Linked DNA regions of Homo sapiens: all the other regions are linked to region 4. The links are contacts of gene promoters, found by promoter capture Hi-C in human tissues and cell types (Jung and others, 2019). All regions are on one chromosome and are shown on one strand. Each heading gives the region's core, a stretch centred on a gene start or on the middle of the fragment in contact. The rest is flanking DNA. Distances are from core to core; before and after follow the strand shown. Region 1 has its middle 30 kb from the start of RBX1. Region 2 overlaps XPNPEP3 (X-prolyl aminopeptidase 3). Region 3 overlaps XPNPEP3 (X-prolyl aminopeptidase 3). Region 4 holds the start of CHADL (chondroadherin like). Region 5 overlaps SLC25A17 (solute carrier family 25 member 17). Region 6 holds the start of POLR3H (RNA polymerase III subunit H).

Region 1 (4,328 bases), core at 1,003-3,502, 260 kb after region 4:
ATTACAGGCGTGAGCCACTGCTCCTGGCCCACAAATTGTTTTTATGAACAAGTTGCTATGCTCTATTCCTCGGACTTCAGACACATGGACTGGAAGAGGATCAGGTGACTGTGGCAAGGGCAGCCATCTCTGGAGGTCAGTGCCCTGTGAGCTGGGCTAGCGTGAACAGTCCTGCCCAATCACCTGTTTCTTGTGGACAGATGAAACGCAAGGCTTACGTGGAGATTTGTGCAGCAGAGACACAGAAACCCAGAGATCCACAGAGATGACAGCTAAAAGTAGAAGTTGAGGCAGTAGAAGCTTTAAGCATGCAGGAGTACGCAGGAGTAAGGCGGCGGAGAGGCCGTGGTGGTTGCAGGAGCTGTTGGTCCCCTGCGCTGTATCCCCTTGGGGCTTCTTAGTCCACCTGCAGGTGTAGGCGGTGGTTCCCTGCACACACAAGCTTCACTTCAGTACCCCCATCTCTCTGCTTCTCAGCCTGAGGGGTTTTTTTCTGGAGCAGTGAACACTTGCTCAGCCTTTTGTGCAGGGTAACCCAGAAGGGCCACGGATTTAAAACCTCCAGGCCCTGGCTCAGTACCTGGGCTTCCCATCCCTGGGCGTGCAGTGCTGTGCTGTGCTCTGCACGTCCCCACAGCGGGCCTGGCGGGGGACTGAGCCCAGTTGTCCGCAGAGGTGACCTGCTCAGTGTCTTTCCTCACTCCCCTGTCTCTCATTCCCTCTCCCGCGCTGTGCTTCCTGGAATCAACTCCAAAATAAGCTACCAAGTTCTCGTCTCAGGCTCTTCTTCAGGGGAATCTAAATTTAGACAGTGGCACTAGAAGAAAAGAGAAGCAGCAACAAAAATCTGCTGTGGGTGCTGAGAAGCAGCGGACACTTCTGCAGGGACAACCAGATGGAGGCCTGCGGCCTACTGAGCGACATTCCAGTCTCCCAGGCCAGATTGCGCAGACAGGGAGGATTTCCTGTGAACCTGCTGTGCTACCAGTGTGCTTGAGGGAACCCGAGAAGTCTCTGGTCCTTTCAACCTGAAGGGACTGAACCAGCCTTCTCCTATGGAGAGCTGCTGTTTGTTAGGCACCTACTATGTGTCCAGCTCTGTGGCAGGCGCTTCACTTTCAACTCTCATTCTCTTGACAACTTGCAAGGGAGGTAATATCTTAAAAAACAAAGTAGGCCAGGCGCGGTGGCTCACACCTGTAATCCCAGCACTTCGGGAGGCCGAGATGGGCGGATCACCTGAGGTCAGGAGTTCGAGACCAGCCTGACCAACATGGTAAAACCCTGTCTTTACTAAAAATACAAAATTAGCTGGGTGTGGTGGCACATGCCTGTAATCCCAGCTACCCAGGAGGCTGAGGCGGGAGAATCGCCTGAACCCAGGAGGCAGAGGTTGCACTGAACCAAGGCCGTGCCATTGCGCTCCAGCCTGGGAAACAAGAGCGAAACTCCATCTCAAAAAAAAAAAAAAAAAAAAAAAAGCCAGGATTGGTGGCACATGCCTGCAGTCCCAGCTACTCAGGAGGCAGAGGCAGAAGAATCGCTTCAACCCGGGAGGTGGAGGTTGCAGTGAGCTGAAATTGCGCCACTGCACTCCAGCCTGGGGGAGAGAGGGAGACTCTGTCTCAAAAACAAAAACAAAAACAAAACAAACAAAAAACAACAGCAACAACAAAAACAAAGTAGGAAGTAGGCCAGGCATGGTGACTTATGCCTGTAATCCCAGTAATTTGGGAGGTCAGGAATTCGAGACCATCCTGACCAACATGACAAAACCCCGTCTCTACTAAAAATACAATAATTAGCCGGGCATGGTGGCACATGCCTGTAGCCCCAGCTATTCAGGAGGCTGAGGCAGGAGAATCGCTTGAACCTGGGAGGCGGAGGTTGCAGTGGCCATGATCGTGCCACTGCACTCCAGCCTAGGGTGACAGAGTGAGACTACATCTCAAAAAAAATAGGATGAAAGACCTACATCTAAGAACTAAAACACAAAAACTCTTAGATGAAAATATAGGGGCAAATATTCATGATGTTGGATTTGACAACAATTTATTAAATGTGACACCAAAAGAAAAAACAAATAGATTGCAATTCATCAAAGTTAAAAACTTTTGTGTATCAAAGGATATTATGGGTTTTGTTGTTGTTGTTGTTTGTTTGTTTGTTTGAGACAGAGTTTCCCTCTATTGCCCAGGCTGGAGCGCAGTGGTGTGATCTCGGCTCACTGCAGCCTTCACCTCCCAGGCTCAAGCAAGCTATCCTCCCACCTCAGCCTCCTGAGTAGCTGGGTCTACAGGCGTGTGGCACCATGCCTGGCTAATTTTTGAATTTTTCTGTAGAGACGGGGTTTCACCACCTTGCTCAGGCTGGTCTCAAACTCCTGGGCTCAAGCGAACCTCCTGTCTTGGCCTCCTAAAGTGCTGGGATTACAAGTGTAAGCCACCACGTCCAGCTGGGATACTATCAAGAGAGTGAAAAGGCAACCCACAGAATGGAAGCAAATTTTTGCAAATAATATATCTGGTAACGATTTAATATCCACATTATATAAAAAGTTCCAACAACTCACCACCACCAAAAAACCCCCCAAAAAACAAAAACCCCAAAAACCAACCCAATTAAAAAATGGCAAAGGGGCCAGGCATGGTGGCTCATGCCTGTAATTCCAGCACTTTGGGAGACTGAGGTGGGCAGCTCACTTGAGGTCAGGAGGTCGAGGCCAGCCTGGCCAACATGGTGAAACCCTGTCTCTACTAAAATTACAAAATTTAGCCAGGCATGGTGGTGGACGCCTGTAATCCTAGCTACTCGGGAGGCTGAGGAAGGAGAATTGCTTGAACCTGGGAGGCAGAGGTGACAGTGAGCCCAGATCTCACCACTGCACTCCAGCTTGAGCAACAGAATAAAACTCTGTCTTGGTCAGGCACGGTGGTTCACGCCTATAATCCCAGCACTTTGAGAGGCCGAGTGGGCAAATCACAAGGTCAAGAGATAGGGACCATCCTGGCCAACACGGTGAAACCCCGTCTCTACTAAAAATACAAAAATTAGCTGGGTGTGGTGGCGGGCGCCTGTGGTCCCAGCTACTCGGGACGCTGAGGCAGGAGAATGGCATGAACCTGGGAGGCGGAGGTTGCAGTAGGCCGAGATCGCGCCACTGCACTCCAGCCTGGCGACAGAGTGAGACTCCGACTCAAAAAAAAAAAAAAAAAAAAGACTCTGTCTCAAAAAACAAAACAAAACAAAAACCAAAAATGGCTAAGAAAGAAGCCATGAAAAGATGCTCAACAGCATCAAAACCACAAATAGTTCTTATTCCCCAGGATGGCTATTATCAAAATTTGTAAAATGACAAGTGTTGGCAAGGATGTCGCTGTGGACTGAATTGTACCCCTCCCTGCAAATTCATATGTTGAAGCCCTAACTCCTAGTATGACTGTATTTGGAGATAACGTCTTTTGGAGATAATTAAGCTTAACTGAGGTAAAAGTTGGGGAGCTAATCCAATAGGACTGGTGTCTTAGAAGAAGAGAAAGAAGAGTCCGGGCTTCCCATCCCTGGGCGTGCAGTGCTGTGCTGTGCTCTGCATGTCCCCACAGCGGGCCTGGTGGGGGACTGAGCCCAGTTGCCTGCAGAGGTGACCTGCTCGGTGGCTTTCCTCACTCCCCTGTCTCTCATTCCCTCTCCCGCGCTGTGCTTCCTGGAATCAACTCCAAAATAAGCTACCAAGTTCTCGTCTCAGGCTCTTCTTTAGGGGAATCTAAATTTAGACAGTGGCACTAGAAGAAAAGAGGAGCAGCAACAAAAATCTGCTGTGGGTGCTGAGAAGCAGCGAACACTTCTGCAGGGACAACCAGATGAGCCCTGGGCTATCACCCAGAGCTCTCTCTCTCTCCAAAGGCCATGTCAGGATGCAGCAGGAAGGCAGCCGTCTACAAGCCAGGAAGAGAGCCCTCATCAGAAACTGAATTTACTGGCACCTTGATCTTGGACTTCCGGCCTCCAGAACAGAATAGAAAATAAATTTCTGTTGTTGAAGCTGCCCAATCTATGGTATTTTGTTAGAACAGCCTTAGTAGACTAATACAAATTTGGAAAAATTGAAGTGCATTGCTGGTGGGAATGTAAAATAGTATGTGGAAAAATCTGGCAATTACTAAAAAAGCTAAACATAGAATTTACTGTATGACCCAACAATTCTACTTCTCGATATATACCCAAAAGAACTGAAAGCAGGGTCTCCTAGAGACATATGTATACATTGTGTTTATTGCGACATTGTTTGTGACAGCCAAAAGGTTAAAAAAAACAAAAAACAAAAAACA
Region 2 (4,348 bases), core at 273-2,772, 370 kb after region 4:
CTATGCTTACCTGTATTCTCTTTTTCTGTATGTATAGAACTTGCGTAATAATTAGGAAAGGCATTGAGATGTTTCCCAAAAGTATTAAGTACATACTGCCATGTATTAGAGAAATATGCAAAACATGAAACCTTTTGGAGAAACCAAGTGCACATTACATAATTTTATATCCTAAACTAACAAGCCAACTGCGTAAGAGACTTTTTTTGAGAGAGAGAGACACGGTCTCATTCTGTCACCCAAGATGGAGTGCAGAGGCATGATCACAGCTCACTGCATCCTTGACCTCCTGGGCTCATGCAATCCTCCCACCTGAGTCCCCCGAGTAGCTGAGACTATAGGCAGGAGCACTAATTTTTTTTATTTCTTATAGAGACAGGGTCTTGCTATGTTGCCTATGCTCGTCTCGAACTCCTAACCTCAAGTGATCCTCTCATCTTGTCTTTCCAAAGTGTTGGGATTATAGGCGTGAGCCACTGTACCTGGCCTAAGAGACTTTTTAAGTATTACATGCCTTTAAATTTTTTTTCCTTTTTTTTTGAGACAGAGTCTCCCTCTGTCCCCCAAGCTGGAGTGCAGTGGCACAATTCTGGCTCACTGCAACCTCCGCCTCCCAGATTCAGGTGATTCTCCTGCCTCAGCCTCCCCAGTAGCTGAGATTATAGGCATATGCCACCACACCCGGCTAATTTTTTTTTTGGGGGGTATTTTTAGTAGAGACAGGATTTCACCATATTGGTTAGGCTGGTCTCAAACTCCTGGCCTCAGGTGATCCACCCACCTTGGCCTCCCAAAGTTCTGGGATTACATGTATGAGCCACTGCGCCCGGCCCCTTTTAATTTTTCTTAAAAATTTACTCTGCTTCACCCTACAATCACTTTAACACTTCCACAAGTTTTGCATCTCTGGAAGGAGAAACACAAATGATTAATTCTTTTGATACTTTTGTCTGCAGAAAAATCTGTACCTAATGGTACATCTGATAGTTTGAGGTTTAAAATACTAATAATTCTGTTTTAAAATTCCATCTACTTCCATCCCTTCTCACTTACCCCAATGTCCAAAATCCCACGTCTAGGAGAGTAAAATTAGGACAGGCATCCCTTTTCCCCCAGATATTCACATACATATGTATGTGAACATATACGTGTACATATTTATTTACATTCACTTATACTTAACATGCACTTAAGGTATAGAGCAAAAAAATCTAGATACAGAGGCCATTATCTTGACAATATAATTACTAGGTTTAAGGCCTGGAAAATGCAGCTTACCATGTAAAAATATCTCACCACAAGAAATCAGTAATTTTCAAAGCTGGTAAAACTATCAATTCTACTTAAAAAAATAACTCGAGTCTACAGGTAGGTTGATAGGGTAGATAAATACTAAAATTAATACCAACTGGGTTGCTATTAAGCTTACCTTACAGCTTTGAAAAACTCTGATTTCTTGTGGGTTTCAGTGGTGAGCTGCATTTCCTTAGTTTCAGCCGACTTCCCAGCAGGAATTCGAGTCTGATGAAAAATCAGCAAAAGGAAGCCCTCACTGAGAAACATACTGGTATCATTCACTGAGTGGGGATAGTGAAAAAGGAACATATTTCTAAAGGTAAATTTCCATTAGTAATATATATGCTTATATGGCAAATACATATTTAATTTCTTATGGCAGAAAGAACAATTAATTTTCCTTGAAAACCTGATTGCTTTTTCTACAATGTGTTTGCTTTTACCCTACCTTCCTCTCTGAGATATTCATTAGTCATAGTTCACCCCTTAAGTGCAAGAAATCAAAACAAAAAACCTTTAGGTCTAAATTTGAGCAATAGTTATAAGACATCTTCTGGCAGCAACGCTGGGATCTTATAGCAGAAAAAAAAATTAGTAAAACAAACCTTTATCATTTTTTTGCATCACCTTTATCAACTGGGATACTACCTCTCAAATCTGTGACAAACAAATCTGGAAATCTTGCTTAATCTATATAGAAATAGGTTATAATTTTAAAGTAAATATTTGATAATTTCAAGAAAAAACATGTTTTCTAAAATGTCTTTAACACAGTAATTCACAATAGTATACAATTCTAAAAGCTGACTTAGAAATAGAACTTTGCTTTAAAAACATCCTGAAATACATACCTTTCATTAATTATTCTGAATTATAAGGTCTATCATATTTAAACCTTGTTCTAGACTAGTATTGTCAATAAAGCACCAGTACCCACATGTAGTTAAGCTTAAATTTAAATTAATTAAAATTAAATAAAATAAAAAGTTCAGCTCCTCAGCTGTACTAGCAACCTTATTAGTGTAAAATGGCCATGTGAGGTTAGTGGCTACCTTATGGAACAGCACAGATCCAGAGCTTACTGCAAGAAGTTCTATTGCATAGCATTGCTCTAGACAGAACCTAAATGGGGAGATAGCACAGTTAAAAGGCCTTACCTGGTCTGAGGAGGTGTGGGTGTGTAAAGGGGCTGGGCTGGCCTAAGTATCGGTTTGGAATCCTCCTTTCTGGGACAGGCTGAAGGGAGTACCTTCGCTGTGAACACAACATACATCCTGAATGAAGAATAAAGAGAATGAAATGAAACAATAGATCTAGAAAGTCTTCATGGTATAAATACACTTATCTCTAGCAGTTTAGATGCTTTAGAAAAATGCAAACTAATATTTCCTTCCTTCTCTCCTTCAATATTCATTTATTTTTTTTTTAAGACAGAGTCTCACTCTGTCACCCAGGCTGGAGTCAGTGGCATGATCTCGGCTCACTGCAACCTCCACCTCCTGGGTTCAAGTGATTCTCCTGCCTCAAGCCTCCTACATAGCTGGGATTACAGGTGCGTGCCACCATGTCTGGCTAATTTTTGTAGAGACGGGGTTTAATCCTGTTGGCCAGGCTGGTCTCGAACTCTTGACCTCAAGTGATCCGCCCACCTCGGCCTCCCAAAGTGTTGGGATTACAGGCATGAGCCACTGCACCTGGCCCTCCTTCAATATTTATATGGCCTTTGCTCTGTGTCAGACTCTGTGTTGGGCCTTAGGAAAACAGAAATGAGATCTTTACCCTCAGAGACATTTGTCTGCTATAATATTTTATACACATACACACACACACACACACACACACACGCACACATATATAATAAAGGTATGAATAAGGAGCTATGAAAACAGAAGAAAGGAACCAAAAAAGGCAGGGGAAGGATATCACAGAGGCAGTTTGAAAGGGTATCACAGAGATAGCATAAAGCTGTGTCCTAAAACTCAGGAAAAGATAATCAACATTTTTTATTGAGAATATGTTAAGCATGAGAAAATATGCACATGCTATCTCATTTAATCTTGGAATGTCAGAGCTAGATAAAATAATTTATGAAAAATGCTTAATCATAGAGTACAACAAATGTTAGTTATTAGCATTAATTAAAAAATTCTTTGCACATGATTGGAACATGCTCAAAGAAAGACACATGAATGACAAGGCTATATGCTGTGGTCTTTAAAGAATGCACAGTCTAGTGGAGGTGAGACAAAATAGAGCATTACAATATTAAATGGTGAATGCAACAGTGGATTCACACATAAGGAGTTTTGTTTGTTGGGTTTTTTTTTTTTTTTTTTGAGACAGGTCTCACTCTGTCGCCCAGGCTGGAGTGTAGTGGCATGATCATAGCTCACTGCAGCTTTGTTCCTCTGGGCTTAGGCAATAAATGAAATGAAACAATAGATCTAGAAAGTCTTCATGGTATAAATGCACTTATCCATCTCCAACAGTTTGGATGCTTTAGAAAAATGCAAACTAATATTTCCTTCCTTCTCTCCTTCAATATTTATTCATTTATTTATTTTTAAGACAGAGTCTCACTCTGTTGCCCAGGCTGGAGTCAGTGGCTCAGCCTCCCAAGTAGCTGGGACTACAGGTATGTGCCACCAAGACTGGTTAATTTTTTTTATTTTTGGTAGAGATGAGGTCTCACTATGTTGCCCAGGTTGGAAACCCACACCAATTTCTTTGTAATCATCTTAGAAGCTATGATTTTTCTTTTTTTTAAATCTTTTTAGAAGAAGCTATGATTTTTCTAAACAATCTTCTACAAACTGGAATTAACTTTTAAGACTCTTCTCTCCCAAATACATATATTATTATTCATAATTCATAGTCCTTACAGAAATTGTATGTTCACAAGGAGATTGTACAGTATTGATTGTTGAGATTAAACAGAGAGGACCTAGTGAGCGGCAAGGGGGAGGGATAAGAGCAAAGATTATGAAGTCAAATAAACCTGAGTTTGAATCTCAGCTTCTCTGGTACTAAGTGTGTAACCTTGTCCAGATTA
Region 3 (4,235 bases), core at 292-2,791, 350 kb after region 4:
GTATAATACTGATGATGATGATCAAATACATTGAGAGACTGAATTAAAGTCCTGTTGGGATGTTATCCCTATGGAGGAGAATTGGCTTGATGAATATTTAGACTTGATTAATGATAGATTATTATTTTTAATAACTCAGCAGATATATACCATGAAGTGCAGAAAACTGTGGATCAAGGAGGCCAAAGGACTGTACAGTTCGTACAAAAACACAAGAAAGTGTAATTGGATAATTCAGCTGTCTGTTTAAATCAGTACCAACCCTTCACTGATCATTGTAAATGTTTGGATTCTGTGTATGCATTTTTTTAGAGACAGTGTTTGCTCTGTCACCAAGGCTGGAGTGCAGTGATGTGATAATACTTCACTGTAACCTTAAACTTTTGGGCTCAAGTGATCCTTCTGCCTCAGCCTCCAGAGTAGCTAGGACTACAGGCATATGCCACAATGCCTGGCTAATTAAAATATCTTTTTTTGTAGAGGTGAGGTCTTGCCATGTTGCCAGGCTGGTCTCTAACTCCTCGCTGCCTCACGTGATCCTCCCACCTTGGCCTCAGTGCTGAGATTATAGGGGTGAGCCACTATGCCCTGCTTGTCTATGTATTTTGATTATCTATATGATATTGAGAAGTGAAGTAACTGTTGTCAACTCAGGATTACTGTTTTATCAAAAAATAGAGTTAATGTTGGTTATGGGGGTAGAGTGAACTGTTGTGCTAATTCCAGGTTTAGAATTAGCCAGAGCTATTTTGCTAAAGTTCCTTCCTTGGTCAAGGTGTGGCAGGAAACATACTGACTGAAAGTGTTAAGAGGATGCTGGACATGTTGGCTCATGCCTGTGATCTTAGTGTTTTGGGAGGCTGAGGATGGAAGATCTCTTGAGGCCAGGAGTTCAACACCAGCCTGGATAATATAGTGACACCCCATCTCTACAAAAACCTAAAAACAGCCATGGTGGTATGTGCCTGTAATCCAAGCTACTCAGGAGGCTGAGGCAAGAGTATCCCCTAAGTCCAGGAATTCAAGGTTGCAGTAAGCTATGATCTCACCATGCACTCCAACCTGAGCAATAGCGAGACACTGTCTCAAAAAGAAAAAACAAAACAAAACAAAACAAAACAAAAAAAAAACCATTAGGAAGGCAGGAAGCACATAAAAAGATGCCCAACACCACTAATCATTAGGGAAATACAAATCCAAACCACAGTAAGATACCACTTCACACACATTAGGATTGGCTATTGCCACAAAAACAGAACAAATGTTGGTGTAGAGTGGAGAAATTGAAACCCTTGGTGCGTTGCTAGTGGGAATGTGAAACGGTGCAGCCACTATGGATAACAGTATGGTGGTCCTCAAAATATTAAACATAAAATTACCATTTGATCTAGCAACTCCAGTTGTGTGTATATACCAAATGGAATTAAAAGAGACTTGAACACAAGATATTTGTACACTTATGTTTACAGCAACATTATTCACAATAGTAAAAAAAAAAAAAAGATAGAAACCAAATGTTTATCAATGGATGAATAGACAAATAAAATATGGCATACGCATACAATGGAATATTATTCAGTCTTTAAAAAGAATGAAGCTGGGCATGGCAGCTCATACCTGTAATCCCAGCACTTTGGGAGGTCAAGGTGGGCGGACTGCTTGAGCTCAGGAGTTCGAGACTAGCCTGGACAACACTGAGAAACCCTGTCTCTACAAAAAATTTAAAAAATTAGCAGGCATAGTGGCATGCACCAATGGTCCCAGCTACTTGGGAGGCTAAGGTGGGAGGATCACTTGAACCCAGGAGGTCGAGACTGCAGTGAGCTGTGATCATGCTACTGCACTCTAGTCTGGGCAACAGAGCGAGACTCTATCTAAAAAACAAAAGTGAAATTCTAATGGAAGAAATTTAAAAACATTATGCTAAGTGAGATAAGCCAGTCACAAAAAGCCAAATGTTGTATGATTCCATTTATATGAAGTAGCTAGAATAGGTAGATTCACAGAGAAAGTAGAGGTTACTGGGGGCTGGAGGAGGGGAGAATGGGAAGTTATTATTTATCTGTACAGTTTCTATTTGGAATGATGGAGAAAGTCGGGAAAAAGTGGGCACAACAATGTGAATGTACTTAATGTCATTGATTTGCATACTTAAAAACGGTTAAAATGATATATTTTATGTTATGCACATTTCACCACAGTAAAAAGATTTTTTTAAATTAAGTCAATGGCCAACACCTTGGAGAGAATAAATGAAATAGGGAGTTTTGGGATAGTTTCTATCAGTTTGCCAGTGAGATTTATGGTTTACACTTGGTCTCTGTGAAAACTCTCGGGGGGCTTTACTGTTACGTAGCAGGAATATGATTATGTGACCAAAAAAACAAAAATCCCTAGCTGAGATTCCATTTTGGAGTCTCTGATTCTGAGGTAGTCTGTTGCATGTGCCATGGACTGAATTGTGTTTCCCGCAGAATTAATGTGTTAAAGCTCTAATCTCTATGTCTTTAGGAGGTAGTTAAGGTTAAATTAGGTAATTAAGGGTGGGGCTCTAATTTGATAGGACCATGGCCTTGTAAAAAGGCCCTCTTTCACTGTCATGTAAGGACACAGCAAGAAAGCCGCCTTCTGTAAGCCGGGAGAGCCCTCACCAGAAATGGACCATGATGGCACCTTGATCTCGGACTTCCAGACTGCAAAATTATGAGACAATACATTTCTCTTGTTTAAGCCATGCAGACTGTGATATTTTGTAATGGCAGCCTGAGCAGAGTATGACAACACTGGTGATTCCTAATCTGTAAGAGAAAGATACATCCTGCCTGGCCCTCACCTAGGGAGGACCAGAGAAGCCTGCACCTGGCTTCTCTAGACTCCTTGCTTTGAGACAGCCATTGGCTGTGATATATATCCTTACTTTCATATTATGGTTATTTTTTACCCTTTTCCTATAATAAACTGCAGATCTGTAAGCATTGTCACTTTGGGTCCTGAGTCTTTCTTAGAACCAAACTGTTTAACTGACACTATTAGTGTAACTATAAGGAAAAGAAACAGTATTAATTTCTGTCGTTCTAAGGAGAAATAATTAAGATTGATGGGTAAAAGAACCATCTTAACAGAAGGCAGATTTACTTTGTCTTGCAAGGTATTAAGCAAGTCTCTAGGTATGTTCACTACACACTGGAGCAGAAGCTAGATGCCATTCTGCGGTGAGGAGACTGCTGCATTGGGTATACGACCTCAAGAGCTTACGATTTTTCCAATCTGGAAAAAACTTTTTCTTTTTTTCTTGTTTTTTTTTTTTTTTTTGAGATGGAGTCTCGCTCTGTCGCCCAGGCTGGAGTGCAGTGGCCCGATCTCGGCTCACTGCAAGCTCTGCCTCCCGGGTTCACACCATTCTCCTGCCTCAGCCTACCGAGTAGCTGGGACTACAGGAGCCCGCCACCATGCCCGGCTAATTTTTTATGTTTTTTTAGTAGAGACGGGGTTTCACCATGTTAGCCAGGATGGTCTCGATCTCCTGACCTCATGATCCACCTGCCTCGGCCTCCCAAAGTGCTTGGATTACAGGCGTGAGCCACCGCGCCCGGCTGGAAAAAACTTTTCAATAGGAATCATACCTGTGATGTCAGCTTCCCAGCAATCTGCATTCGTTCAATTTCTGCAGGAGACTTGATCAGCCGGAGGCGCTGTATCAGCTGCTGAACACCCCGAACCTTGTTCTTGCTCTTGGCTTTGGCCTCAGTCAGGGGCTGCATATAGTCAGAGTGAAGCTGTGCATGTGAGGGCCTCATCCAGTCATACCAAACCATGTTCGTCTCAGCTTAGAATGAGAAGCCGAAAAATAAATTTAAAACAAAACTACCAGCAACAAGAAATATCAACTGTCATAACGACTTGAACAAGAGTCAAAACTATAAAACCTGTAACGTGGAACTCTAAAGTGTTGAGACTTAAGACTCTCTCAGGACTGAAGCAATAAAGGTTTGATTATAAATCATTAGAAAGGTCATTCCCTGGAAATGGCAAGATATTCTAAGACTGAATATACAGCTTTTCTGCCCCTAAACTTCAGTGTTCTTTATAAAGGATGATACGGGACTAAAGCTTTAGTCAAGCTTTGATTTTCTCTCTTTCTCTCTCTCTTTATTTTTGAGATGGAGTCTTGCTCTGTTGCCCAGGCTGGAGTGCAGTGGCACAATCTCAGCTCACTGCAACCTCCGCCTCCCAGG
Region 4 (4,454 bases), core at 1,154-3,653:
AAAAAAAAAATTAAAATAGATGAAGCCGGGTGCGGGCTCACACCTGTAAATCCTAGGACTTTGGGAGGTTGAGGCGGGCGGATCACTTGAGGTCAGGAGTTTGTGACCTGCCTGGCCAATATGGTGAGACCCGTCTCTACTAAAAATACAAAAATTAGCTGGGTGTGGTGGCGGGTGCCTGTAATCCCAGCTACTCGGGAAGCTGAAGCAGAATTCCTTGAACCTGGGAGGCGGAGGTTGCAGTGAGCTGAGATCACGCCACTGTACTCTAGCCTGGGCAACGAGAGCTAGACTCCGTCTCAAAAAAAAAATAAAAAGATGATTCTCACTAACATAATATTGAGTGGAAAACGCCAGACACAGCCAGGTGCAGTGGCTCATGCCTGTAATCCTAACGCTTTGGGAGGCCGAGGTGGGAGGATCACTTGTGCCCCGGAGTTCAAGACCAGCCTGGACAACATAGCAAGACCCCAACTCTACAACAAATTTTAAAACCAGCTGGAGGTGGCGGTGCATATCTGGAGGTCCCAGCTGCTTGGGAGGCTGGTATGTCAAGGCCGCAGTGAGCCATGATCACACTTCACTCACACCTGGGCAACAGTGAGACCCTGTCTCAAAAAAAGGACGAAAGAGCACACTGAAGTTCCATTGATTGGAATTTGCCAAGCAAAAAAAGCACAAAGCAGATGGCTGTGTGGCATGGCACTATTTCTTTTTTTAAAATGTTACTGCAGGGCTGGGCGTGGTGACTCATGCCTGTAATCCCAGCACTTTGGGAGATCAAGGCGGGCAGATCACTTGAGGTCAGGAGTTCGGGACCGGCCTGGCCAACATGGCGAAACCCCGTCTCTACTAAAAATGCAAAAATTAACCAGATGTGGTGGTACACATCTGTCATCCCAGCTACTTGGGAAGCTGAGGCAGGAGAATCGCATGAACCAGGGAGGTGGAGGTTGCAGTGAGCTCCAGCCTGGGCGATAAAGTGAGACTCTGTCTCAAAAAACAAAAAACTCCTGCAGTCTAGGAAAAGTACACACAGATGTTCATTGTTTAACATATATAAATATATATAAACATATACATTTATATTTTTATTATATATAAATATATACACACATAAGTGTATACACACACACATACATATATATATATATATATATATATATATATATATATATATATATATATATGTATATATTTTTTTTCTTTTTTGAGACAGTTTCACTCTGTTGCCCAGGCTAGAGTGCAGTGGCGCCATCTCGGCTCTCGCGTTCATGCCATTTGCCTGCCTCAGCCTCCCAAGTAGCTGGGACTACAGGCGCCTGCCACCACACCCGGCTAATTTTTTGTACTTTTAGTAGAGATAGGGTTTCACTGTGTTAGCCAGGATGGTCTTGATCTCGACCTCGTGATCCACCCGCCTCCGCCTCCCAAAGTGCTGGGATTACAGGCGTGAGCCACCGCGCCCGGCCTTTTTTTTTTCTCTTGAGACAGAGTCTGTGTTGCCCAGGCTGGTCTCAAACTCCTGGGCTCAAGTGATCCTCCCACCTCAGCCTCCCAAAGTGCTGGGATTACAGGCATGAGCCACTGTGCCTGACCCCTGTTTCCAATTAAAGGAACAAACAGTAGAAGATGCAATTCCATCAGAAGCAGGAATCTGAAAAATCAAGATACATGAACATTGGCCATGGTCTGGATGTATTATTTAAAAAACAAACACGAGCTTGGGAAGATGCGTATTTGGATATTCTTTGCAATATTGTTTGTAAATAGCAAAAAATTGGAGGTAGCCAATGTCCAAGATGAATGGCTAAGTCAATGTGATACATTTACACAATGGAATACTATATACCACAGAATAATGAGATTCGGAAGAGTCAATTTGGATAACTCCCAGTAATCTGAGGTTAAGTGAAAAAAATGAGTGTCTAGAATCCTGTGTGTCCAGTATTAAACTATTTATGTCAATGTGTAAGCACAAACGGAAGGAAAGGGTCACCTGTTCTGAAGCACCCACTGTGTGCCAGGTGCGGGCCTGAACCCCCACTGTGACCTCAGAGCTACTTATTAATGGGATGTGTTTTTCAGAGACTAGGAAGCAGCCTCTGGGAGGGCAGCCCACATGGCAGGAGGGAGCCCAGGACTGCTGACTCCCGGGCCAGCTGCTGGTGCCCCCTCCCTGTCGGGCTGGCCCAAGGATTCAGGCCGGGGCCTCAGTCCTCGGCTGGGGCAGGCAGGAGGCCCTGTAACTCCAGCCGCTGCTCCCGCCCGCCGCCCGCCCCTTCTTCACCTCAGCCTGGGGAAGCCTGGCTTGCCTGGTCTGCCGACAATGCCTCCCATTCAGCCCTGTCCCAGCTGCCAGGCCTGCGGGCCGTGGAGGGGGGCTCCTGCCAGGCGGGGACAGCCTGTCCCTGCGCTGCGCCTCCAGGCTGGACCAGCAGTTCCAGGCGGCATGGAGGGGTGAGTCTTTGGGCCCGATGGTGCAAGGGGGGATTCAGAGCAGCTCAGTGGCCTCAGGTAAGTCTCTGCCCCCTCTGGGCCTCTCAGAGGCTGGCGGGCAGGGGCTCTGGGGACTTCCTGGGGTTCTCCAGGAAGGGGGTCTCCCAAGGTGGGCTCTGAGACACGTGGCAATGTGGCCACTGCCAGGAACTGGTCCTCTGGGGCTTGTCTGAGAGCCCAGCAGTGGTCCCTGCATTATGAATGCTTGTCGCTTCAGCGATCTGTCCCCATGGGTCCCCTCCCTGGCCTGCCCTGAGGCACAGCCTTCACCACAGGCTCTGGAGAAGCCACCAACTCCAACGCAGGGGCTGGAGCCTGGGACCCAAAGGAGACTCCAAAACAGACGATAGTCCAGTGAGCAGCGAGGGGGAGGCTCCTGGGGGCCGGGGAACAGCCCAGCGATGGGGGAGAGGCCATGCCTGACACAGGCTGAGAACAGAGGGGCCAGCTGGGCAGGGGAGGTGATCTATCATCCTAGCGCTTTGGGAGGCCAAGGTGGGACAATCACTTGAGGCCAGGAGTTCAAGACCAGCCCGGGCAACATAGCGAGACCCTGTCTCTACCAGAAGTAATTAAAAAATTAGCCAGGCGTGGTGGTGTGTGCCTGTAGTCCCAGCTACTCAAGAGGCTGAGGTGAGAGGATCACTTTAGCCCAGGAGGTGAAGGCTGCAGTAAGCCATAGTCATTCCACTGCACTCCAGACTCCAGCCTGGGCAACAGAGCAAGGCTTGTCTCTATTTAAACAAACAAACAAAAAAAGACTCAAGGACCCGGACTGGATGCCTCCCTCCTTTCTGGGGGGTACCATTATGCTCCTGCCACCTGGGAGCTGGCATCATATCAGTCTGAGGACAGGCTGCTTCCGAGCCTACCCTGGACCAGAGCCTCACCACAGCCTGAGAACATGCTCTGAACTGGAGTCATTCTCACAGTCAGCAAGTCCTCACTGAGCCATTGGGCAGAGGCAAAGGGACTAACCAGGTCACTTTTCTGAGCCTCGGTTTCCTCCCATGTAAAACAGGACTAATCATAGGACCTCCACTGCGTGGGGGGTGGGGGGCAGGGAGGCTCAGGGTGATTGGCACTTTCCTGGGCCCAAAGGAGGAGGCTCTGAGGGGTTTTTGGGGCAGGAGCTGCACCATGGCTGGGACTAAGTGAGGGACAGCATGTGGCCTCGGCCCTTGTGCACAACAGACTCTCCCTCCCCGTCCCAGGCCCCGGAGCTCCACCCATGTCCCCTTGGTGCTGCCGCTTCTTGTACTTCTGCTGCTGGCCCCGGCTAGGCAGGCCGCCGCCCAGCGCTGCCCACAGGCCTGCATCTGTGACAACTCCAGGCGACACGTTGCCTGCCGGTACCAGAACCTCACTGAGGTGCCAGACGCCATCCCTGAGGTCAGCAGGGCAGGAGCACAGGCACAGAGTGGCAGTGGGGCAAGGTGGGGACCCAGAGGGAGGAGCCTGGGCTGGGCACCAGTTGATCTGCCACCGCCTGCCCGGGAGACCTTGGCAAATTACTTCTCTTTGAGCCTCAGTTTACACTTCTGTAAAATGGGAATAATAAAAACCAGTAACAGGGAGATGATCTATTTAAAATCCTTACTGTGTGAATGGAATAAGTAGGTGACCCATAGATCGATACTGAATTCACTGCAGACCCTGTGGTGGAGAGGCGGGCTGTGGCAGGGTGAGGTGTGGTCTCTGCTCTGCAGAGTCATCAGCTAGTGGAGGAGAGAGAGCGAGGAGGCAGGGACAGCACAGTGTGAAAAATGCCACAGTGGGTGATGCCCAGGGCACTGGAGAGGAAGGCTTCCTGGAGGAGGTGTCAGGGGTCGGATGAAGAGAAATATGGGAAAGGTGACAGGAGAAAAGAGTGTTCCGGGGAAGAAGCAGCACTTGCAAAGGCGGGGTCCCTGCCTGGCTCAGCCCCACTTTCTCCTCGCTGTCCCCAGCTGACC
Region 5 (4,156 bases), core at 224-2,723, 460 kb after region 4:
GACACCCGGGCTGGAGTGCAGTAGTGCGATCTCGGCTCACTGCAACCTCCACCTTCTGGGTTCAAGCGATTCTCCTTCCTCAGCCTCCTGAGTAGCTGGGACTACAGGCGCCCGCCACCGTGCCTGGCTAATTTTTGTATTCTTAGTAGAAACAGGGTTTCGCCGTGTTGGCCAGGCTGGTCTCTAACTCCTGACCTTGTGATCCACCCGCCTCAGCCTCCCAAAGTGCTGGGATTCCAGGCGTGAGCAACCGCACCCGGCCGGAACTGGCAGAAGAGTTACACGGGCTTACAAAAAAGCAGACAATTTTCTTTATCCTTTGGGCCTGTCAGGAGTTGGAATTGGTACTCACGAATGGTTTGTGGCATGCTTCTCTCAGTGGAATGCTGACCTTTGCTTGATGATATAGGTTGCAAGTTTTAGTAAAGCTTCGGATTCTCAAGTATTTTGAGTAGCTTCTCTCAGAACTCATAAAATTATACTGGTTAAAAAATACTCCTCCATCTATTTTGGCTTAGAGAGTGAAAAAAAGTACTTGAACTTCTCAGATAAAAAGCTTTGAAATACCAAATGTTCTTACAAGGACTTTATAATCTGTTATTTAAGTAATGTGGTACATTTTTGTACTTGAGGTTGTCCTTGAGAAGAATCCTTTTAGGCCGGGTGCGGTGGCTCACACCTGTAATCCCAGCACTTTGAGAGGCCGAGGCGGGCGGATCACGAGGTCAGGAGATCGAGACCATCCTGGCTAACACGGTGAAACCCCGTCTCTACTAAAAATACAAAAAATTAGTCGGGCGCAGTGGCGGGCGCCTGTAGTCCTGGCTACTCGGGAGGCTGAGGCAGGAGAATGGTGTGAGCCGGGGAGGCGGAGCTTGCAGTGAGCCGAGATAGAACCACTGCACTCCGGCCTGGGCGAAAGAGCGAGACTCCGTCTCAAAAAAAAAAAAAAGAATCCTTTTAGTCTTTCTGCTTGTGTTAATAATGGGGATATGAAAGCAGATTTTTTTTTCTTTTTTCTTTTTTTAATAAGAAAAGGTCTCACTCTGTTGCCCAGCTCTGGAGTGCAGTGGCATGATCACAGCTCACTGCAGCCTCAACCTCCTGGGCTGAAGCGATCTTCCCACTTCAGCCTCTTGAGTAGCTGGAACCACAGGAGTGTGCCACCCTGCCTGGCTAATTTTTAATATTTTTTTTAGAGATGGAGTCTCCCTCTTTTGCCCAGGCTGCTATTGAACTCCTAGGCTCAAGTGATCCTCCCATATCAGCCTCTCAAAGTGCTAAGATTACAGGCATGAGCCACCACACTGGGCATGAAAGCAGAATTTTAAAGAATGGTTAGATCTTAATCTTAGCTGCATTGCCTCCTAAGTGTTTTTGTATGTGCCTACCTCTTAAATGAAGAAAATTTTTATTTCTGAAGAATTTATTTAACAGGCAACATATTTCACTTGTTTAGAAAGGTGGGTGCACTATACCTTTCTACGGTATCTGTGGAAGCTTGTGATCTCTGGTCCTGAGCTCTCCTGTCCTCCTTTTCTCTTAAAACAAATGCAGTAGACTGCTCAATAGCACTTTCTAGTCTGATTTTTCTGGCTGTTGGTTTTTCTCTGTTAAGTGAAGTGTGCATTGCATTGAATAGGAATACATTCTAAAATCTAGGCAAACAGGAATGTGTTAATATCCCTCTATACTGGCCTCTGGGGCATGGGTGCTTTTGAAAAAATGAGACTAGGAAGAATCTGTAACTAAGGGTTTTTTAGATTATAGGCAATGCCTCCAGTGACAATGTATGAGCCTTTTAAGTTATAACTAAAGATGACTCCTTAATGTTATGTGAATCTATAAAAATATAACAAATACGACTGATAAAATTATTAGGTGATGCCTTTTATTTTGAGAAATGTGCTCTTATAATGCTCCTTAGAGATAGGCAGCAAAATATCTTTAACAACTGTATGCAACTAATGAAAAAATTGAATTTGAATCTCTTGGCTGTTTTGTCAAGTTTATCCTTGGTTAGACTGTATTTCCTATATATAATATTTTGAGATACCTTAAATCAAAACTTTATTTCTTCAATTATCTTTAAATGGATTTTAGTAAAAGACTTCTCTTCCTTAGGATTTTTTCTCTTGGTTCTTCAGATCTTGACTAGAGCCAGACAGTTGGATGTGTGCTTTTTTACTGAGTTTGTTCATTGCTTCATTTGTTCCACTATTTATTTAACAAATGTTTATAAAGTATATACCATGTGTCAGGCACATTGTTACAATTCTATCTGGTATTTTTTTTTAATCATTTCAGGACTGGTGAGGAATATTTTAATATCTCAAGATGGTGTTAAATTGGGATCATATGTTTTCAAAAAAGAAGCACCTGGCTCATTGTATTGTTCTACTCTGAGGCAACCTTGGGGGGCCAAGATCCCCATCCTTAAGCTTGTAAGGATCATGATGCTTGTGAAGCTGTTTCAGGTGTTTTGTGACACTTACCTGATGCTTGCTGCCTGCCTATCCTAATGCTCTCAGCAAGGAGGAACTCTTCAGCGAGCTTCTAGTCTCTGTTAAGGCACTTTTAAATGTCACCACCTTTCCCCCTCCTGTCACTCATTGTACCATATCCATACTCACTTCAAACCGTGTGAGCTACTTAAGTAAGAGTTGTAAATTGTGTGTTTTATCTGATATTGTCATGGACTTAGCATGTTAGCTGTAAGCCACTCTCATCTCTAAAGCTGTTACGTTAAAATTATATTTAAAGCTATATCAAAATTGCTACTTTGAATGGTATATAAATTGACAAATAGATTGCCTGTTGTACAAATGAGGGAACTTATTGCTCTTCATCTGGAGAGCTGCTGCCGCCAGCCATTTTGCTATCAGCAAAGCTTCCAAATCGCTTCTAACAGTAGTGGCTTGTGTTGTACCCTGGCACAAAGAGACACCTTACCTTAGGTCTCCTAAGAGGTCAGTGACAGAGATATAAATGGAATATTGGTATGTAGCTTTAAAGCAGCAAAGCTTAAAAGCTGACATTTTGCCTTCCCTTTTTCTCTCCATCTTTCTTGTTAAAGGAGTGGTTAATGTGTTGCTAACAACTCCACTCTGGGTGGTAAACACCAGACTGAAGCTTCAAGGAGCAAAATTTAGGAATGAAGACATTGTACCAACAAACTACAAAGGTATCATTGGTAAGTATCTCTTTGCTGAATTCCTATTTAAGGGTTTTCTTCCTTCTTTGTATCTGGAATATGTTGCCACATAAAGCTACATAACATATCCTTTGCCCACTTTTTGATGGGTTTGTTTGATTTTTTTTCTTGTAAATTTGTTTAAGTTCTTTGTTGATTCTGGATATTAGCCCTTTGTCAGATGGGTAGATTGTAAAAATTATCTCCCATTCTGTACGTTGCCTGTTCACTCTGACGGTAGTTTCTTTTGCTGTGCAACAGCTCTTTAGTTTAATTAGATCCCATTTGTCTATTTTGGCTTTTGTTGCCATTGCTTTTACCTAATGTAAATGATGAGTTAATGGGTGCAGCAAACCGACATGGCACATATATACATATGTAACAAACCTGCACGTTGTGCACATGTCCCCTAGAACTTAAAGTATAATTAAAAAAAAATAAAAGCTGCATAACAGACAACCTCAAATCTCGGCATCCATCAATAGCATTTCTTTTTAACACATGTTTGTGGATTGACGTGGATTTGGCTCATCTAGGCTGACCGTAGCCTGACAGTCTCAGTTCACATGGCTCTCCTCTTTCTGGGACCAGCATGAGCATATTCTCATTGTGATGGCAAAAGGTCAAGAGGACACACCCAATGGTATAAACACCTTTCAACCCTGTTGGCACCTTGTCTGCTGACATCCCAGTGGCCAAAGCACATCACATAGCCAAGCCCAAGACAAGGGGTAGAGAAGTATGCTGCTCCCAAAGAGTATCAATGGGAGGGGATGAATATTTTTGAAGAATGATCTATACTTTTTTATTCTAGTGTTGTCTTTGGATAGACACCAGATTGGTATCTGATATCTTTGAGCTTCTGCCTTTCAATAGTACCACATTGCCAGGTTCTCCTTTCCCATACATCAATCTTTGTAGTGAAATAGTGGTTTTTAAAAGTCAAATCCTGTATAATAAATT
Region 6 (4,320 bases), core at 693-3,192, 300 kb before region 4:
GGCACCTGTAATTCCAGCTATTTGGGAAGCTGAGGCAGGAGAATCGCTTGAACCCAGGAGGTGGAGGTTGCATTGAGCTGAGATCATGCCACTGCACTCCAGTCTGGGCGACAGAGCAAGATTCCGTCTCAAAAGAAAAAAAAAAGAAAAGGCCTGAACCGAAGCAATAGCAGTGGGAGTGGAATGAAGAGGAAACATTTGAGAGGAAGAATTAATGGTAATCCCTAAACACCTTTACTCAATGCTTCCTAGGAATGTGTTAGGGGATTGTGGGAATAAAGAGCTGAAGTAGCATTTGCTGCTGTCCTCAAGTACCTCAAATCCTATAGAAGCACACCTAAAAATAAAATCATAGATGCAGGGAAGGCCACATTTAGCATCACTGCAGCCAGTGTCACTGAGAGATCACTATGCTTGTGAAATCAGCAAATTAAGGCACCATACATTTCCAAGTGCCTCTGTCATTTACCCCAAGTATCTTTTGTAAGTACCTAAATTGTTATTTTGGTTAAAACACACTACAAGCCCGGGCGCGGTGGCTCACACCTGTAATCCCAGCACTTTGGAAGGCTGAGGTGGGCAGATCATGAGGTCAGGAGATCGAGACCATCCTGGCTAACACGGTGAAACCTCGTCTCTACTAAAAAAAAATACGAAAAATTAGCCAGGCGTGATGGTGGGCGCCTGTAGTCTCAGCTACTCGGGAGGCTAAGGCAGGAGAATGGCGTGAACCCGAGAGGCGGAGCTTGCAGTGAGCCAAGATCGCGCCACTGCACTCCAGCCTGGGCGACAGAGCGATCCTCCGTCTCAAACAAACAAACAAACAAAAAAACCCACTACAGTATACATCTACACCCCACCAATTTTTAGAGGCAGGGTAGTGAGGTTCAGACTGGGCCCACCTCTACCACTTGTCAACACGTGATCTTGGGTAAGCTACCAAATTCTCTTAGCCCATGCTATCACGTGAAGATGAATGAGACTGGAATGTCAGCGAGACAGAGCATGATGGGGCTATAGGAGGGGGGTATGGTCAGATCTTGCAGGGCCGTGTGAACTACCATAAAGGTTTTGGACTTTTCTTCTTTCTTTCTTCTTTTCTTTCTTCTTTCCCTTTTCTTTCTTCTTTCTTCTTCTTCTTCTCCTTCTTCTTTCTTCTTCTTCCGCCTCTCCTTCTTCTTCTTTTTCGTTTAGACATGAGGTGTCACTGTCACCCATGCTAGAGTGCAGCATGCAACCTCAAACTGCAACCTCAAACTCCTGGACTCAAGCGATGCTGCTGTCTCAGGCTTCTGAGTAGGTGGGACTACGGGTGTACACCACCACGCCCGGCTTGGATCTAGTATTCTAAGTTCAATGGGTTGTGTTTTTTGTTCCAATTTATTATAACTTTTCAATTGGAACATAATGTCTACAAATAAATGCAAAAATCTTGCCGAGTTCAATTAGTTTGGACAATTATATACGTCAATGTTATACCACCGAAAACAAAATACAGAACATTTCCATCATCTCAGAACAGTCCCAAGTGCCCCTTTCCTGCTAATTCTCCTTGTCTCCGGAACACTTAAGGGTGCTAAGCATGTTATGTTTGCGGTGGGTTTTTTTTTTAACTTAGATGTGGTAATATATGTTTGCGTTTCCAAAGGATCACTCTGGCTGCCGAGCAGAGGACAGCAATGCGGGTAAAGCACAGGCCAGGCGAGGGATAATCAGGCGGGATTGCACGGAGGTCGCCTAGCAACAGAAAGCGCTGTCGGGGGCGGGGGAACCGCTCTGCTCCTGTGAAAGGAGGAGGCCCCGCCCTCTCCTCGCCCTCTCTCTGCCCCACGCTGTGCGCGAGCACACAGGCAGCCCCGCCCCGCCTCGGCGGGGTGGGGGTGGACAGAGGTTTCTTATTGGTGAGTTTTCCGGAAGCGATGGATTCGGAATCTCGCCCGCAGTCGCGCAAGCGCGAGCGGCTGTGCGCGGTGCGTGGTGCGTGGTGCGTGATACGAGCGGCGGCACGTGGCGCGGGTGCGGGGCGTGGAGTGGCGTGGCGTGGAGTGGCGTGGCGTGGCGGGGTCTCGCGGCGCGGGCGCGCACCCGGAGCTGTGGACGGAGAGTGCCTCCCTCTGGCCTCAGTTTCCTCATGTTGTAGTAGCGGAGCATGGCCCGGACCGGGCCCCCGAGACCGCCCCGTGCAACCTCACCGCCAGCCTGGGGGCCTCAGCGACTGGGACGGGACCAAGGGGCTCGGGGATTCTCCCTGCCCCCGGCCCTGGTGCGTGACTGACCCTCCTGTTCCCAGAGCCCCCAGCGCAGGCCGGGATGTTCGTCCTGGTGGAAATGGTGGACACCGTCCGGATCCCCCCTTGGCAGTTTGAGAGGAAGCTCAACGACTCCATTGCCGAGGAGCTGAACAAGAAGTTGGCCAACAAGGTACTGGGCCCACGGCTCGCGGGCAGGCCTTGGCGTGGGAGAGCGAGCGCCGCCCACTGGCCGCAGGCCCGGCCTCGGTCATGCCAAGCCCTGGCCGTGGGCAAGCAGCTTAATGTCTCAGAACTTTTCTTCACCGTGAAAGGAGATATTGAAGGGGATCAAAAGAAAATGGGCTTGAAAAAGGGAGTTGTAACTGGAAGTGTTAGATTCCACAATTCTAAATTACTTTGCAATTGCAGGCAAGTTACTGACCCCTTCTGGGCCTCAGTTTCCATTTTTAAAATGGGGATAAAATATTGCTGTCCTTCCAGCCATGCATTGTTTTTGTTGTTGTTGTTGTTTGTTTTGTTTTGTTTTGTTTTTTGTTTTTGAGACGGAGTCTTGCTCTTTCGTCCAGGCTGGAGTGCAGTGGCGCGATCTCGGCTCACTGCAACCTCCGCCTCCCGGGTTCAAGCGATTCTCCTGCCCCAGCCTCCCGAGTAGCTGGGACAACTACAGGCGCGCGCCACCACCCCCAGCTAATTTTTGTATTTTTCGTAGAGACGGGGTTTCACCATTTTGGCCAGGATGGTCTCGATCTCTTGATCCCCCCGCCTCGGCCTCCCAAAGTGCTGGGATTACAGGTGTGCGCCATCGCCTCGGGTCAATGCATTGTTTTCGTGAAGATGGAGAGTTCTAGTAGTACAGAATTAACTGTCAGGAGGTTCATCCCTTCATTCCAGCAGCCAATATTTGTGCGCCTTCTCTGTGCTGTGCCTGTGTGCCTTAGTACCAGCTGAGAGGTCTTCCCACTGCCGTTTCTTTGACAGTCCTCCCTTTCCAGGTATTCTGTGTCACATCACTCTCTTTCCTTCTTAGACTTTTTCCTTTCCCTCTCCTTGAGAGCAGGGACCTTATCTGCCTTCTTCCCTGAAGTATCCCCTCATTTAGCCAAAGCCTGGCGGGAGTAGATGTCCCATAATTTTCTGTTTTGTGTTTGTGTGTGTGAGACAAGAGTGCCGCTCTTGTCGCCCAGGCTGGGGTGCAATGAAGCGATCTTGGCTCACTGCAACCTCCACCTCCCAGGTTCAAGCTATTCTTCTGCTTCAGCCTCCTGAGTAGCTGGGATTACAGGCACCTGCCACCACACCTGGCTAATTTTTGTACTTTTAGTAGAGACGGGGTTTCACCATGTTGGCCAGGCTGGTCTCAAACTTCTGACCTCAGGTGATCTGCCTGCCTCAGCCTCCCAAAGTGCTGGAATTACAGGTGTGAGCCACCGTGCCCGGCCATTTGTTGACTGAATGAATGAAACAGAGACAAGGCTCTGTGCTATAGTGTGGTGGGAAAGCAGATATGAATGAGAAGGGTCCACAGTTGAGTGTTTGGTGACAAATTGAGGTAAATGTTATGAGGGACAGGTGTTCACACACCTGTGGAACAAAGGAACGTCCCCTGGAATGAGGGGACCTGCAGCTTTGTTGAGGAGGTGGGGTTGAAGGTGAGATCTGATGGTGAAGTGGAGCCAACCAGAGGATTCCTTTCTAGGGTGGGAGGGGGCTGGGTGGAGAGAAGAGCCCTGAAGGCAGGAACTGGCATGTGCAAAGGCCCTGTGAAGAAGGAATACAGGCCGGGCGTGGGGGCTCACACCTGTAATCCCACCACTTTGGGAGGCTGAGGCGGGTGGATCACCCAAGGTCAGGAGTTTGAGACCAGCCTGTCCAACATGGTGAAGCCCCATGTCTACTAAAAATACAAAAAATAGCTGGGCATGGTGGCAGGCACCTGTAATCCCGGCTACTTGGGAGGCAGAGGGAGAAGAATCACTTGAACCCAGGAGGCAGAGGTTGCAGTGAGCTGAAATCGCACCACTGCCTTCCAGCCTGGGTGACAAGAGTGAAACTTCGCTTCAAAAAAAAA

What was found. The method cuts DNA at HindIII sites, captures the fragments that hold promoters and counts their contacts. A contact is called where the count stands out against the background at its distance.
Region 1: a contact is called between a fragment that was not itself captured here and the fragment with the promoter of CHADL in region 4, in 2 of the 25 tissues and cell types used here (lymphoblastoid cells and spleen).
Region 2: a fragment that was not itself captured here is called in contact with the fragment with the promoter of CHADL in region 4 in 1 of the 25 tissues and cell types used here (lymphoblastoid cells).
Region 3: a fragment that was not itself captured here is called in contact with the fragment with the promoter of CHADL in region 4 in 2 of the 25 tissues and cell types used here (lymphoblastoid cells and spleen).
Region 5: a contact is called between a fragment that was not itself captured here and the fragment with the promoter of CHADL in region 4, in 1 of the 25 tissues and cell types used here (lymphoblastoid cells).
Region 6: a contact is called between the fragment with the promoter of POLR3H here and the fragment with the promoter of CHADL in region 4, in 2 of the 25 tissues and cell types used here (dorsolateral prefrontal cortex and mesenchymal stem cells).

The regions. Positions count from the first base shown.
Region 1 is chr22:40,979,331-40,983,658 of GRCh38, reverse strand. No RefSeq gene overlaps it. Among named protein-coding and RNA genes, the nearest start is that of RBX1, 30 kb to the right of the region's middle. The HindIII fragment of the contact is 3,762 bases long and covers 372-4,133 here.
Region 2 is chr22:40,867,221-40,871,568 of GRCh38, reverse strand. XPNPEP3 (X-prolyl aminopeptidase 3) reads right to left here. Exons shown (of 10, transcript NM_022098.4): 2 at 2,454-2,570. Among named protein-coding and RNA genes, the nearest start is that of DNAJB7, 7.3 kb to the right of the region's middle. The HindIII fragment of the contact is 4,117 bases long and covers 1-3,580 here.
Region 3 is chr22:40,885,904-40,890,138 of GRCh38, reverse strand. It overlaps XPNPEP3 (X-prolyl aminopeptidase 3), which reads right to left. Exons shown (of 10, transcript NM_022098.4): 4 at 3,624-3,826. Among named protein-coding and RNA genes, the nearest start is that of DNAJB7, 26 kb to the right of the region's middle. The HindIII fragment of the contact is 5,151 bases long and covers 1-4,116 here.
Region 4 is chr22:41,238,880-41,243,333 of GRCh38, reverse strand. It overlaps CHADL (chondroadherin like), which reads left to right and starts at 2,403. Exons shown (of 6, transcript NM_138481.2): 1 at 2,403-2,460; 2 at 3,714-3,891; 3 at 4,449-4,454. The coding sequence starts at 2,453. RefSeq lists enhancers at 1,799-2,299, 2,300-2,800, 4,250-4,454. The HindIII fragment of the contact is 27,215 bases long and covers 1-4,454 here.
Region 5 is chr22:40,778,046-40,782,201 of GRCh38, reverse strand. SLC25A17 (solute carrier family 25 member 17) reads left to right here. Exons shown (of 9, transcript NM_006358.4): 5 at 3,077-3,193. Among named protein-coding and RNA genes, the nearest start is that of MIR4766, 34 kb to the left of the region's middle. RefSeq lists an enhancer at 1-137. The HindIII fragment of the contact is 3,211 bases long and covers 1-3,078 here.
Region 6 is chr22:41,542,092-41,546,411 of GRCh38, reverse strand. POLR3H (RNA polymerase III subunit H) reads left to right here and starts at 1,942. Exons shown (of 6, transcript NM_001018050.4): 1 at 1,942-2,421. The coding sequence starts at 2,311. RefSeq lists silencers at 1,752-1,851, 2,042-2,171 and enhancers at 2,222-2,311, 2,322-2,421, 1,744-2,581. The HindIII fragment of the contact is 26,348 bases long and covers 1-4,320 here.